3 separate regions of the Homo sapiens genome follow, and regions 2 and 3 are each linked to region 1. Evidence: promoter capture Hi-C in 16 types of primary human blood cells and fetal thymus (Javierre and others, 2016). All regions are on one chromosome and are shown on one strand. The core of a region is centred on a gene start or on the middle of the fragment in contact, and the rest is flanking DNA. Distances in the headings are between cores, read along the strand shown. Region 1 holds the start of SPTBN1 (spectrin beta, non-erythrocytic 1). Region 2 overlaps ACYP2 (acylphosphatase 2). Region 3 overlaps ACYP2 (acylphosphatase 2).

Region 1 (4,153 bases), core at 573-3,072:
AAATGGATGCACTTCCCAATATTGTTACTGTTTTCTTTGGTATTTCATTAACATTGTGAGTGGGGAGGTGCTGGGGTCCATGGTAAAAAAATAAGTAAGTGAAAGGCAAACAACTTTGCTTTCTAGTGGATTTCCCTTATTACCTAATGAGGGCAGCAGCTTACAAGTTGATTGTGTTCAATTCAACAAATTTGTTTTAGTACCTAAGTGCCTGCTATATGTACAGAGTGAAGAAAGAAATAACCCTACCTTTAAGAGAGTTTACGGTCTGGTTGTGTTGATTCACCTTCTGAGAAAAAATGTTATTTGCTTTCCTCAATTTTTTTCCTATCAAAAGTAAACATAGGTTCAAACATTCAAACCTATGAAGGCCTAAAAGGAAGAATCATCTTCAGTTTGCTGTGACGATTTCACTGAGTTTTATTTTAAAATATTCATTTAAAAATACATACAAACATATAAACCCATCAGGCCAGGTTCTAGTGATCTGAGATATAAGCATGATACAAACTACTTGGCTGCCGTGTATTTTTGTTTTATTTTAATCCAGGTGATCAGGTCTGTATGGGGAAAAAGCCCTGGGGCTTTTTCAAACAGGAAGGGCCCTCCTCCCTCTGAATGCCCGCAGTGCCGCCCTGTGCACTTTACAGAACAAGGAGAAAGTCAGTTTCTTCAAACTGCTTTTCTAAAGAGCGTTTCCATTCGTGGTCCTGGTGATTCCACCATCTTTTCTTCACAACAGTGACGGTTCTGGAATTTCTACACAGCCTGAGGGGCTGACGGGGTAGACCAGGTGACTGGGAAGGGGCAGTGGCACATGACAAAAATTTGAGGAAACGTCCAGTTTCCGTTTCAGGGAATGCGCATAGGGGAAAACGCAAGTCCCCACGCCATCACGGGGCCCTCCACCGCGGCCGGACGACCCCTCTCTCGGGAGTGACTGGGGCAGGGCACCTGGCCTCAGGTTCGAGCGGAGCCTGCACTGAGAGGCAGGAGTTGGATGAACCACTTGTAGGGTCTGCTCCCAGCTACCCAAAGCGAAAGGGTGGGCGAAAAAGCATTTGCAAAAGAATACATTAACCTCACAAGGAACGACCCCCACCACCCATCCTCCAGCGCCCAAGGTTTCCCACGAAGAGGTCGCCGTCGCCCTTCTCCAAGTTGGGTAGAACCTATAAGGCATCACCAACTGCATCTCAAACCAACCAAGCAAGTGACGCTCCAAAACCTCCCTAAATACCCTCTCTCCCCAGCATTCCGAACGCAACATCAAGGGCGAAAAGAGGCTGCACAAATCACGTAGAAAATTAGACCGCCTCTTTCCATGGCGATAATCGAATTAGCCTCAAATTAAACGTGAAATTGGCCCTCTCCGGCTGTGGAGACAAAGCCCCTATTGTCCTGCTCGGGTAGCGGCAGCAGCAGTGCCCACCCCGCCCCGGCCAGCCTGGTCGGTCCCCGCCGCTGGGAGGATGAGGTCCGGGCTGGACCCGGGAAGAGCCTCAGCTGGAGAGGACGTGGACGCGCCCGAGGCTCGGCTCCCTGGGCGGCTGCGGGGCTCCGGGCAGGAGGAGAGGGCGGGCGAAGCAGAGGGAGCGGGCGGGAGTGGGGAGGGAGGAGTGCGGAGGGCGGAGGGCGTGCGGGAGGGATCCCGGGAGTGCGCTTGTGTGTGTGTGCGCGCGCGCCCGCCCCGCGCGCTCCTCTCCCCGCCCCTCGCCCCCTCCCTGCGAGCGCCCTCCTCTCCTCCTCCCCCCGCCCCCCGCGCTCCCGCCCAGCCCCCGGAATCAGTGCCGCTGTTGCCGTGCAGGCTGCGGATTCCTCCAGTCCCTCCCTCGGCCGCCTCTCCTCCCGGAGCGAGCGCGCAGCCCTGCGCAGCAGCGCCCACTGGTCCCGTCCTGTGAGCCCCGGCCCCAGCCGCGGACAGACCCGCGGAGTCGCCTCCCGGCCCACCCGCCCGGCCGCCGAGGAGCGGGAGGAGGACGGGACCCCGGCGCCCCCACCCCATCCCCGGGAGGTAGGTAGGGGGCCCGAGGCAGGGAGATGCCAACTCACTGGGGCTGCCTCCCGGGTGGGCTCCGCGGCGGCGGACGGGCGGGAGGAGGGGCGCGGGCCCAGGGCCGGAGGACGCCGCTGCCCGCCTGCCCTGCGCCCGGGGAGCCGCGTGGGGGCAGGGAGGCTGCAAAGCCCGGGCGGGGGCGGCGCGGGGAGCCCGGGTCGCGGGTGCTCATTGGTACTCGGATGATGCGGGACGAGGGGCGGCAGGCTCTGCGGTGAGGCGGCAGCAGACCCGCCGTGCGCACCGCTGCCGTCCGGCCCCAGCCCCGGCGCGGCGCGGCGATTCCTCCTCCCTGCCTCCGCCGGCGCCTCCCTGCAGCCGGGCGCGGCGGCCCCTGACGCGGAGGCCCCTGGCGCGGAGGTGGGTGCGGAGCGGACAGCGGACAGCCGGAGGGTCTATTTTCAGGTGCCCTCTCTGTGGCCCCGCGGGTGGGGAGCGGGGGCGGCGGTGACAGGGCCGGGCTCTGCGCGTAGCGGTGCAGGGGATGCGGCCAGGCGTGGTCCCGGCTGCGCCGCGCTGCAGCTGAGCCGGAGGCGGCGGCCCCGCGCCCCCACCTCCGCCCCATCCCTGCGCTTGCTACCCTCGTGCGCCCGCCCCCCCCCCGCCCTTTCTGCCGTCCCCACTCTCCCAGGGCTGGGCGTGAGCCGCCTCCGGGCGCCGAGCCGCCGCTGCGCCCGCCCTTCAGCTCCTGCCACCCTCTCTTCAACAGGTTTGTCTCAGCGCAGGGACCCTCCGGGCCTGCTTTGGGTAGGTGGGCTGGCTCGTCATCACCCCCCACACCACGCCCACGGCCCTCTTTTAGGGGGCGCCTTCTCTTTGTTTTTGTGATAGGAAAGGTGCCAACTGCTGCCATCAGATGAGGAGGGGGTGGGGATCAGAACGCAAACCTCTGTCCATTATTTTTCCAATCGAAAGCCAGGCCAGATAGTAAGTGAGGACAGGGTGCGTGTGGGGGTGCTTCGGCGGAGCAGAAAATTGAATTCGGTGGGGTTTATTTGGGCGGGGATGTGCTTTTTTGGCAAGATGGATGGCTCACGGTGCCCTCGCCGTGATGCAGCACAATGCAGCAGTATCGCAGCTTCCTTGGTTCTCGCTGGCGGGGCTTGGCACGGCCGCTCGGCGCCTGCGGCCCCCGCCCGGCCCCACCCAGGCCCGGGGCTGCCCTTGGCCGAGGCCTGGAGCTGCTGCTACCTTGTCCTGCAGCTTCTGCTGGATGTGGCGTCAGGAGGACCAGGTCAGCTAGGTGTGAGCAGGGGAGAGTCTTTTCTTTTGGGATGATCCCTCCTGCACCTCTTCTTGGGCTGCGCTCTGCCGGAGGGGCGCCCTGCATCACCAGTGCAGGCAGAGGGGAGCCGGCCTGTGGTTGCGGATCGGAATCTGATCTGCGACCAGGGGACCTGAGCCATAGGGAGGGGCTGCAGGAAGGACTGGGCCCAGTGGTGTGCGGAGGCAATGTTGCAGTGTGGGGAGTCGCAGCGTTTTTCTGTGGATCGTCCATAATCTGTAACCACAACCCAGCTATGCATTAATTTTTTCTACGTGAAAAGTTGGTGTTTATTAATTGGACCTTCACAACTGTGACATTACAGTACCTCGTCTGTCTTTGGTTAATACCAAGTATGCATTTTTTCTGTAGGAAACCATTTTTAAATGAAATGATTAATGCATTTTGGGTTTTATGTCACTAAGACATTTATAAGTATATTAAAATTCAGTAGGTTGTTTTAAAAGGAATTTATATGTTTTTTAATGGATAGTAAATGATTCCTTTAGCTTGTATTTTGTTTTCATCGTTTGCTTTTTCTAAGTCAAGTACAGTTGCATTATTTGGATGCTTTATTAAGGATTATTAGGTGTATGAGTGTCATGATGGGGGCTAAATTGGTATTCAGATTTCTATTGATTGAGGTAGCCAAGTTAAGTGTCCGGGCGTAATTAATGGGATTATGACAGTAACACTGCGTTTGTGTTTGTTTATATGTATTTTTTGTATACATATTTTTCACAGCTGTGACTGGGGAGAGGGTGGAGAAGGGCAGACCACCAAGGCCTCTTGACTGGCATCTAGTCAGAAGGAGATGGTTCCCAGTGTTCTCA
Region 2 (4,153 bases), core at 696-3,195, 290 kb before region 1:
CAAAACCAAACAAAATAAAATAGAATAGAATAAAATAAAATAATAAAATAATCTGCTACATCCAAATGTCCAATAAAGGAAAAAAGCCACATGAACCGTGAGTTAGAAACCATAAAAAGTAATTGGATATTACCAAGAGAAGTGTTACTAATATAATTTCAGATACATTACGGGGATAATATTTAGACAGGTGTAGTAGAGCCATTATTGTTATATATCAGCTGAGTTATTTTAAAATAGATATAGTAATCATTGAATTAAAGAAACCCAATGAATTTTAAAAAGAGAAAGAGCAGTGAAAATGAACATACAGTATCTCTTGGGAAAATGTAAAATGGATGATAAAACAGGAAGACTGTAGAGGGTGTATTATAGATAACACATTAATTGTAATTGTATTAGAAATAGAATTTTAAGCATTGCCATTTTCTGGATAGCTGAGGATGACAAAGTCAAAATTTTTAGTGCATGCTTTCACTTAAATGGCCTATAAAATAGACAACTGAGGTGAAACACTGGTAAGATGAGCCAAAGCTTTATTTTTGGCGTCATTTTCCTTTAAACCTGTTGGGATTTGTAAAGCTTGGTTTTCCTGTCCAAAGAACCAATCAGGAGTGTTACAGAAGAATTTTTCTACCTAAATAATTTTGAACGCTATTCTTTCTAAAGTATGTTAGACTTATCGCTTACCTTTTTCCCCACAGAATGGAAGCTATTTAGCAGAGGTTGGCCTTTTTCTGATGACTCCAGTAGATAGTTTCAGCAGTGAATCTTCCAGGGCTAATTAGCATGTGTGGTGCCATTGGAGTTGCATGCTTGCGTTCTTGGGTCCTGGTGTGTTGTTCCTCTTTGTTAGGTCTGTCTGATTTTGATCTGTTTCTTTGATGCTTGGAGCACACCCATGAGAGCCTCCCCTATCCCCCTTTGACTTCAGTTTCAAATTTATGGACATTACTGAAATAAATACACACATGCTCACCTTCGTTTGGATCCTACATCAAAAAATGTGATAAACAATCCTCAGCCTCTAGAATTTTTTTTTTTAAGAGAGAATAGGTCTTGCTATGTTGGCCATGATGGCCTCATGCAACCCTCCTGCCTTGGGTTCCCAAAGTGCTGAGATTACAGGCATGATCCACTTCACCTGGCCAACCTCTAGGAATTTGATGTAAGTCTAGCTACTACCTACCAGCCATATCCATGTACTCTAGACAACATTTTTGACAAACAGTGCACAGGAAAGGCCCATGAAACTTACGGTTTTTTTTCCATCGAGAAAAATATTGCCTTCTATTTCTATAAGTTAATTTTATTTTTCAATAATTCTAATAATTAATGAAATAATACCTGGATGCTAAGAGTCAAACAGTGCTAAAAATATTTAAAAACCAGCAACTACTGCCTCTTCAACCCATCCCATCCCACTCCTCAACAATAGTTTTAGCGATTTTTTTGAGTATTCCTCCTAATTTCAGATTAACTGGTATCTCTTAAATCATTAACTTTAGATATTATCTGGTGACTTTTTACCGTGATAGACAAATCTATTGATGTCCTATTATGATAGATGAAGATGTGACTCTTAAACTAGTCTTTCCTTCCCTCATTTCCTCATTATGCTTTTATATGACTTTTGGTTAATGCATCAGCAGTCAGTTTTTATATTTTTAGAACTATGTAAGTTGTGTCCTAAGGTGCCCTCAAGGAGGAATCTGGCTCCAGTTGTTCATTTCTTCTTTTTATTTTGAGACAGACTCTCACTCTGTTGCCCAGGCTGGTGTGCAGTGGCGCGATCTTGGCTCACTGCAACCTCCACCTCTTGAGTTGAAGTGGTTCTCCTGCCTCAGCCTCCCGAGTAGCTGGGATTACAGGTGTGTGTCACCATGCCTGGCTCATTTTTGTATTATTAGTAGAGACGGGGTTTCACCATGTTGGCCAGCCTGGTCTCGAACTCACAGCCTCAAGCAGTCTGCCTGCCTCCGCCTCCCAAAGTGCTGGGATTACAGGCATGAGCCACCACGCCTGGCCAGTTCATTTCTTCTTTTAGCGTTTTGTGACACTTGGTGATACTTGGTTGCCAATACCAGGTGATAGAAAAACTTTACCTCCAAATCCTGTTGCAGAAATTTTTCTTAAAACAGTTTTTTTTTTTTTTTAAAATCACAGAATAGACACAGTCTCTTAGGCGGTTGGAAGTATATTCACATCTCCAGCTAGATGGGAAAATCTTGTGGGCAGGGATTGTAATATGACTTTGGGATTGTAATATGACTTCGTAAAGAACAGGGATTTTTAAAAGGAAAGGTTAAGATTTGGATAGGCAAAAGGAAGGAGGATATGCTTTATACTTTTGGTCTCTTGACCTTATCTGAAGGCCTGGAACTCCTGTAATGAAGTAGTTACACAGTCAAAGGTGGGAGGAGGGTCTGTTAGCATCCATCTGCAGGTCTCAGTAATTCTCCACTGCCTGACACAATCACCTCCTCACTGCCCCTGTGAGGTGCAGCGCCATCCAAGTCAATCACAGGGAAATGCCAGGGCTCACTTTGTTTATTTACTGGAGTGGCTGGTTGTACTGGGAGGCTATCAAGACTATCGGGAGGGCTCGGCATTTCATACTCTTTGGGCTGCCTTCTGTGTGTATGTGACAGATCCTGGGCCGGGATCTCTGAGCCAGAGCTCCTCTCAAGGTTAACCTTGTACATCCCCCTCCCCATATGTGATCAGCAGGGGACAGGCTGGAGTGCGCAAGCCGGAGTGCACATTCCCAAAGGTTCACGCTGGCCTTCCTTCGTGTCTGCTGTCCAGCCCCAAATACGACCCTTTTAATCTCATAAAACTACTCAGAAGGGCTTCAAACATAAAGAAATACAGTCCACAGCTTTCCTCCCCATACTGAAGATAGCGAATGGAATATGGGAATGTTATCGGGGGGCGAGCTGTTACCCATCCACTAAGAGCCCTAGTTCCTGATGGCCAAATGCATATCTTCTCTATTAAGCAAATTTATCTGCCAAAAAGCTGTGTTATGCCAAAAAGTTATGTCCACAAATTTAGGACACTATCTTGTGTCGTTTGTGGTTGTATAAGAATCACAATGTGGCGTTGGTTGCTAAATACATTATTAACCTGTTTGAGAGCAACTCTGTTGTTTTCTTTGCTCATGAAGGTCAATTTTCACCAGTAGAAGCATTACAAATTTAACTTGAGGATCTTAGTTTTTTTTTCCTGTAAGAGCTTTTTTCACCCCTTTCATTAGTAATTCTAAAAATTTTGAACTGGAAATTTTAATAATAGAGTAAGTAAATCTAAGCTTCTTTGGAAGTTGTACTTGTCAGTTCTATTTTTCGGTGTCTTAGGAAACAAGTTAAAAACGGCTTTTTAGTTCTTAATACATTTCTAATTACAGTTCTTTCTCCTCTTTAAGGGGCTTGCTTTTCTTTAAAAAGGTGCCGTTTTCTTTCCCTGTACTAATTGGAATGTTGGTTTTAAAAATTGATATTCTTGGGTTGGGTGTGGCGGTTCACACCTGTAATCCTACCACTTTAGGAGGTTGAGGGAGGAGGATCTCTTGAGCCTAGCAGTGCAAGATCAGCCTAGTCAACATAGGGATACCCCATCTCTACAAAAATAAAAAATACAATTAGCCAAGGATGGTGGGATGTGTCTGTAGTCTCAGCTACTCAGGAGGCTGAGGCAGGAAGGATCCCTTGAACCCAGGAGTTTGAGGCTGCAGTGAGCTATAATTGTGCCACTGCACTTCAACCTGGGTAACAGAGCGAGACCCTGTCTCTAGAAAAATAAAAATTATATTCCTTCTAACCATGGTCATTAAAAAAATATGTATATAAATATACACATGTATATATATTTGCTTGCAAAGAGACAAAAGTCATTACTTAAGGCAAAGCTTTTAAAATTGAAGATGTTTCATATGATCATGTGCTTTGTTTATGAACACATTTGTACCAACTGAAGTGTTGGCCTTGGTTGAATTTCCTTCTTTTCTCCAAATCATCAAAACTGATGAAATGTCAATCATGTTGACCAATTTTTCACAACAATGTGTGTAACCCATGGCAGTGAAGGGTGTGAAGACAAATTTAGCTTCCACACCTGGAGAGGGAGCAGTATGTGGATGAGTAGAATAAAT
Region 3 (4,153 bases), core at 628-3,127, 260 kb before region 1:
CCATTCCCTGTTTGTCAAGTACCGTACTTTTTAGTTTTATTTTGTTCTAATAACAGAAGAAGAAGTGGTAACATTTGCTGAATACTTATGTATCTGTTACCACATTAATATCTTTATTATCTCATTTAATTCTTAAAACAAGTCTATAAAATGGAAATGATGATCAAACTTCGTTGATAGAAGGAAATGTAAGTTTAGGGAGAGTGAAATAACTCATTTAAACAGATACCACTTGTTAGATGGTAGTGCTGGGATGAGCTCCCAGAGCTGACTCTACCCTCCATCTGAATCAGGTGTGTATTTCTTGAATTGGCACACACTTAGTCGTGACAAGTACTCAAAAGATAAAATAAAAATTGTATTGAATGAATACAATTTAGCTTTATATTTGTTTTTTTCTTTCAGTTGTATTCTTGTTTTGCTCATAAGGCCAAATTTTCATTTAATAATATGTGAATTTATACTCATGATGAAAATCAATCTTATATTTTTAATCTATAATATAGGTGGGAATGTAGCCTGGAATGACTGACAGCTGTTATTATACAAATAGCACATGCTGGCAAAATGGCAGCAATTTTTGTGATCTGTAATTAGGATATTACTGTTGTCTTTATATCTGCAAATAAGTAGTAATGTATTAGAAAGTAATTGGCATAATGAGTTGGGAAAAAATAGAAACACTCTCATTTATGATTCATTTAAAACTTGCTTAAACATTATAGAGTAAAATATTCTGTTCATGTGATTTTATTTGTGCTGTGCTTAAAATATTAAAAATCAGATTTCCAAATAGGCATGATATATGAAGCCTTAGGACTGATCATCTTTCACCCCATCAACATTTTCTTTTTTTTCTTTTTGAGATGGAGTCTCCCTCTGTCACCCAGGCTGGAGTGCAATGGCACGATCTAGGCTCACTGCAACCTCTGTCTCCCAGGTTCAAGTGATTTCTCCTGCCTCAGCCTCCCAAGTAGCTGGTACCACAGGGGTGTGCCACCGCACCTGGCTAATTTTTGCATTTTTAGTAGAGATGGGGTTTCACCATGTTGGCCAGGCTGATCTTGAACTCCTGACCTCAAGTGATCCACCTGCCTTGGGCTCCTAAAGTGCTGGGATTACAGGCATGAGCCACCGCGCCCAGCCCCCATCAACATTTTCTTTTGGGAACACTGTGTAATGGATTTTAGTCAATTCTACAGGAAGTAAAACATCAATATTTGGAAGTGAAAAAAATTAACTGCATACTTTTATTGAGTTAAAGCTTTCCTTTAACTCAGCTTTTTCATCCAGGAGGCACGTTATTAAAATCTTGAGTGCACTCATTGATTATTTTTCTTTTATCAGGAAGTCCATAATGTTATATAATAATATATTATATGAACATATAGTACAAATTATATCTATTGAGTAATAAGTACCATCAACATCAAAGACTATGTTATTTTTCACCTTTAATTTTGTTCTTTTTTTCTCTTTAATATATTTACAAGTTCTGCAAACACTTTCTGTTGCTTTGTCATGTTATTATCAATTTGTTTGCAAGTGTCATGTTTGGTATTCCTAACTAGATATGAAAGCTATTTAGGTTAGGAATGAACTGTTTCCTTCTTTTATGAACCTTTATACCTTCTTACAATGCTATCCACATAGTAGGCTGTCACTTGACTGTATATTACTAGAAGTGTATATATTCAGAGTTGGTATCACTAGTGGAAACTCTAGAAGCTATTTTAGGATGTTGTGTTTTCTGATAATGAATATTCAAATGAAGGTAGGAATAGAGAGAACCATATGCATTGACTTATTTTTGGTACCTCCCCAAACTAGGTCAGAATAGAGACCTCAAAATTCAGTGGCTAAACTGCTTCACTCTTTTCTTTTTAGTCATATTTACAATGGCAGTTTTTGATCTTCACAGAACTTCATGTGCATCTGCCTACAGGGTGTTTCTCTTCTGTTGGCCTCATTAGCTCCTTTGGGAATGTGGTCACTGCTATAAAAGGGCCGATTGTTAGATTCTATGGTATAGAGGGCATTGCCAGTCACAAACCAATTTACCTAGCTTCATGGACCTCCGCAGATCTTCTCAGATCCTTAAACTTCTTTGTTGCTAGTGATAATTAACTGAGAGATGATATTAATATTTTAGATATATATCCTTTGACAGTCAGCTTCCTTTCACGACTATAGTTAATAGATTTAATCCCTTAAGTAAGTGTCACTGGAAGCCCAAGTAATACTAGCTGAAACAAAAGAGAGGGTGGTTTTTCTCTTACGTAAGAGAAGTACAGAGATACACAGTTCATGGCTCGCATGGCAGTTCCCTGCTTACAAGGATCCCAAACTCCATCCTCCAGGGCACCTCATGGTTGCCATGTGGCCCCCGCAGCCCCAGCTATCACATCCGCAGCCACGTTGCAAGAATGAAGACTGGCCAAAGGCAAAAAAAAAAAAACAAAACACTGTACTAACTGGGTCAATTGTCTTTAAAGCTTTTTCTTAGGAGCTGTTATTCAGTGACATGTGCTTCATTTAGTTGCAAGAGAGGATGGTTAAATAATTTTTTAGAGGGGTACATTGTCATCGTTTTGTTGTGGGTTTTTTTTTTTTTTTTTTTTTGAGACAGAGTTTTGTTCCATCGCCTAGGCTAGAGTGCAATGGCGCGATCTTGGCTCACTGCAATTTCTGCCTCCTGGGTTCCAGCAGTTCTTCTGCCTCAGCCTCCTGAGTAGCTGGGATTACAAGCGCCTGCCACCACACTCAGCTAATTTTTGTATTTTTAGTAGAGACAAGGTTTCAACATGTTGGTCAGGCTGGTCTCAAACTCCTGACCTCAGATGATCTACCCACCTTGGCCTCCCAAAGTGCTGGGATTACGGGCATGAGCCACCATGCCCGGCCCACATTGTCATCTTAATTAAAATTGGATTTTATTACTAAAGAGAAAGGGCTGAATGTGTATTAAATGGGCATCTAGAACTTCTGCCATACCTTGATATTTAACATATTTTATTTTTTCAGACAGGGCCTCACTCTGTCAGCCAGGCTCAAGGGCAGTAGCACAATCTTGGCTCACTGAAACCTCCGCTCACTGCAATCTCCACCTCCCAGGCTCAAGCCATCCTCCCACCTCAGCTTCCCGAGTAACTGGGACTACAGACTTAACCTATTTTAAGATTTGTCCTTTAAAAAAAAGATTTGTCCTTTTTCCCAAATGAGCCATGGATGTGTGCTTTATATGGCTTTGTTTCTGTGGTAAACATACACAGACCTCCAGCCAAGATTTAATTTTCTTCTTCTGATGTGATTATTTCAATTTTTTTTAAGATTTGGTGAATTACATTAAATAAATATTTATTAAGCTCCTCTCATCATCAGGATACTGTGCTAGATAGGGATTCTCAGCTTTGGTGCTATTGGCATTTGGGGCTGGATAATTCTTTGTTGTGAGGGGCTGTCCTGTGCATTAGGATGTTTAGCAGCTTCTCTGGCCTTCACCCTCTAGTTGCAACTAGCAACCCCCAGTCGTGGTCACCAAATTTGTCTCCATATATTGGTCACATCCCCAGTGGGGATGAAATCGCCCCCAGAGGACCATGGTGCTAGAAGATAGCCCCACATTTATGTGAATTGCCTGTTTGATTTCCTGTGAAAGTGTATCATGGTAGATTAAGTGTTGCTTGAACTGTTGCTTGCTGTTGGTATTACGAGCGAAGTAGTACTGGTGGAATTTTCATGTGTGCTGGACACCATGATGAGAACTGTCCACGTGTCACCTCATTTAATCCTCATAGCACAACACTGAGTTAAAACAGCACTGTGTTAGGAGAAGGTACTAACAAGATTAGGTAGTATTATAACCCCCCTTTACAGAGGAGCAAAATGAGGCTTAGAGATTATTTTAGCTGAGATCTCCCTGAGAGCAAGCCTGAGACAGTGAGTGGTTCGTTGGGAGGTGATTTCAGGAAGCAGAATGATGGAGAGGGGAGAATGAAACAGGGAAGGAAGAAAAGCTAATACAGGAGTTGATGTTGGGTTGAGAGCTACCTCAGGGGTCACCCAGGGCACTGTATATCTGAGGACTCTGAGGAACAGTGAACAATGCATCTCAGAATTAGTTCTCTCTCCCACTCCCTACAGGGGTTGCGGG

The links. The method cuts DNA at HindIII sites, captures the fragments that hold promoters and counts their contacts. A CHiCAGO score of 5 or more calls a contact.
Region 2: a fragment that was not itself captured here is called in contact with the fragment with the promoter of SPTBN1 in region 1 in 2 of 17 cell types (megakaryocytes and endothelial precursors); the score reaches 6.0 in megakaryocytes.
Region 3: a contact is called between a fragment that was not itself captured here and the fragment with the promoter of SPTBN1 in region 1, in 2 of 17 cell types (megakaryocytes and endothelial precursors). The highest score is 8.0, in megakaryocytes.

What each region holds. Positions count from the first base shown.
Region 1 is chr2:54,454,505-54,458,657 of GRCh38, forward strand. It overlaps SPTBN1 (spectrin beta, non-erythrocytic 1), which reads left to right and starts at 1,823. Exons shown (of 36, transcript NM_003128.3): 1 at 1,823-2,014. The HindIII fragment of the contact is 18,714 bases long and covers 1-4,153 here.
Region 2 is chr2:54,168,425-54,172,577 of GRCh38, forward strand. All of the region lies in intron 3 of ACYP2 (acylphosphatase 2), which reads left to right. Among named protein-coding and RNA genes, the nearest start is that of ACYP2, 55 kb to the left of the region's middle. The HindIII fragment of the contact is 2,731 bases long and covers 581-3,311 here.
Region 3 is chr2:54,193,194-54,197,346 of GRCh38, forward strand. The region is part of intron 3 of ACYP2 (acylphosphatase 2); the gene reads left to right. Among named protein-coding and RNA genes, the nearest start is that of TSPYL6, 61 kb to the right of the region's middle. The HindIII fragment of the contact is 1,231 bases long and covers 1,263-2,493 here.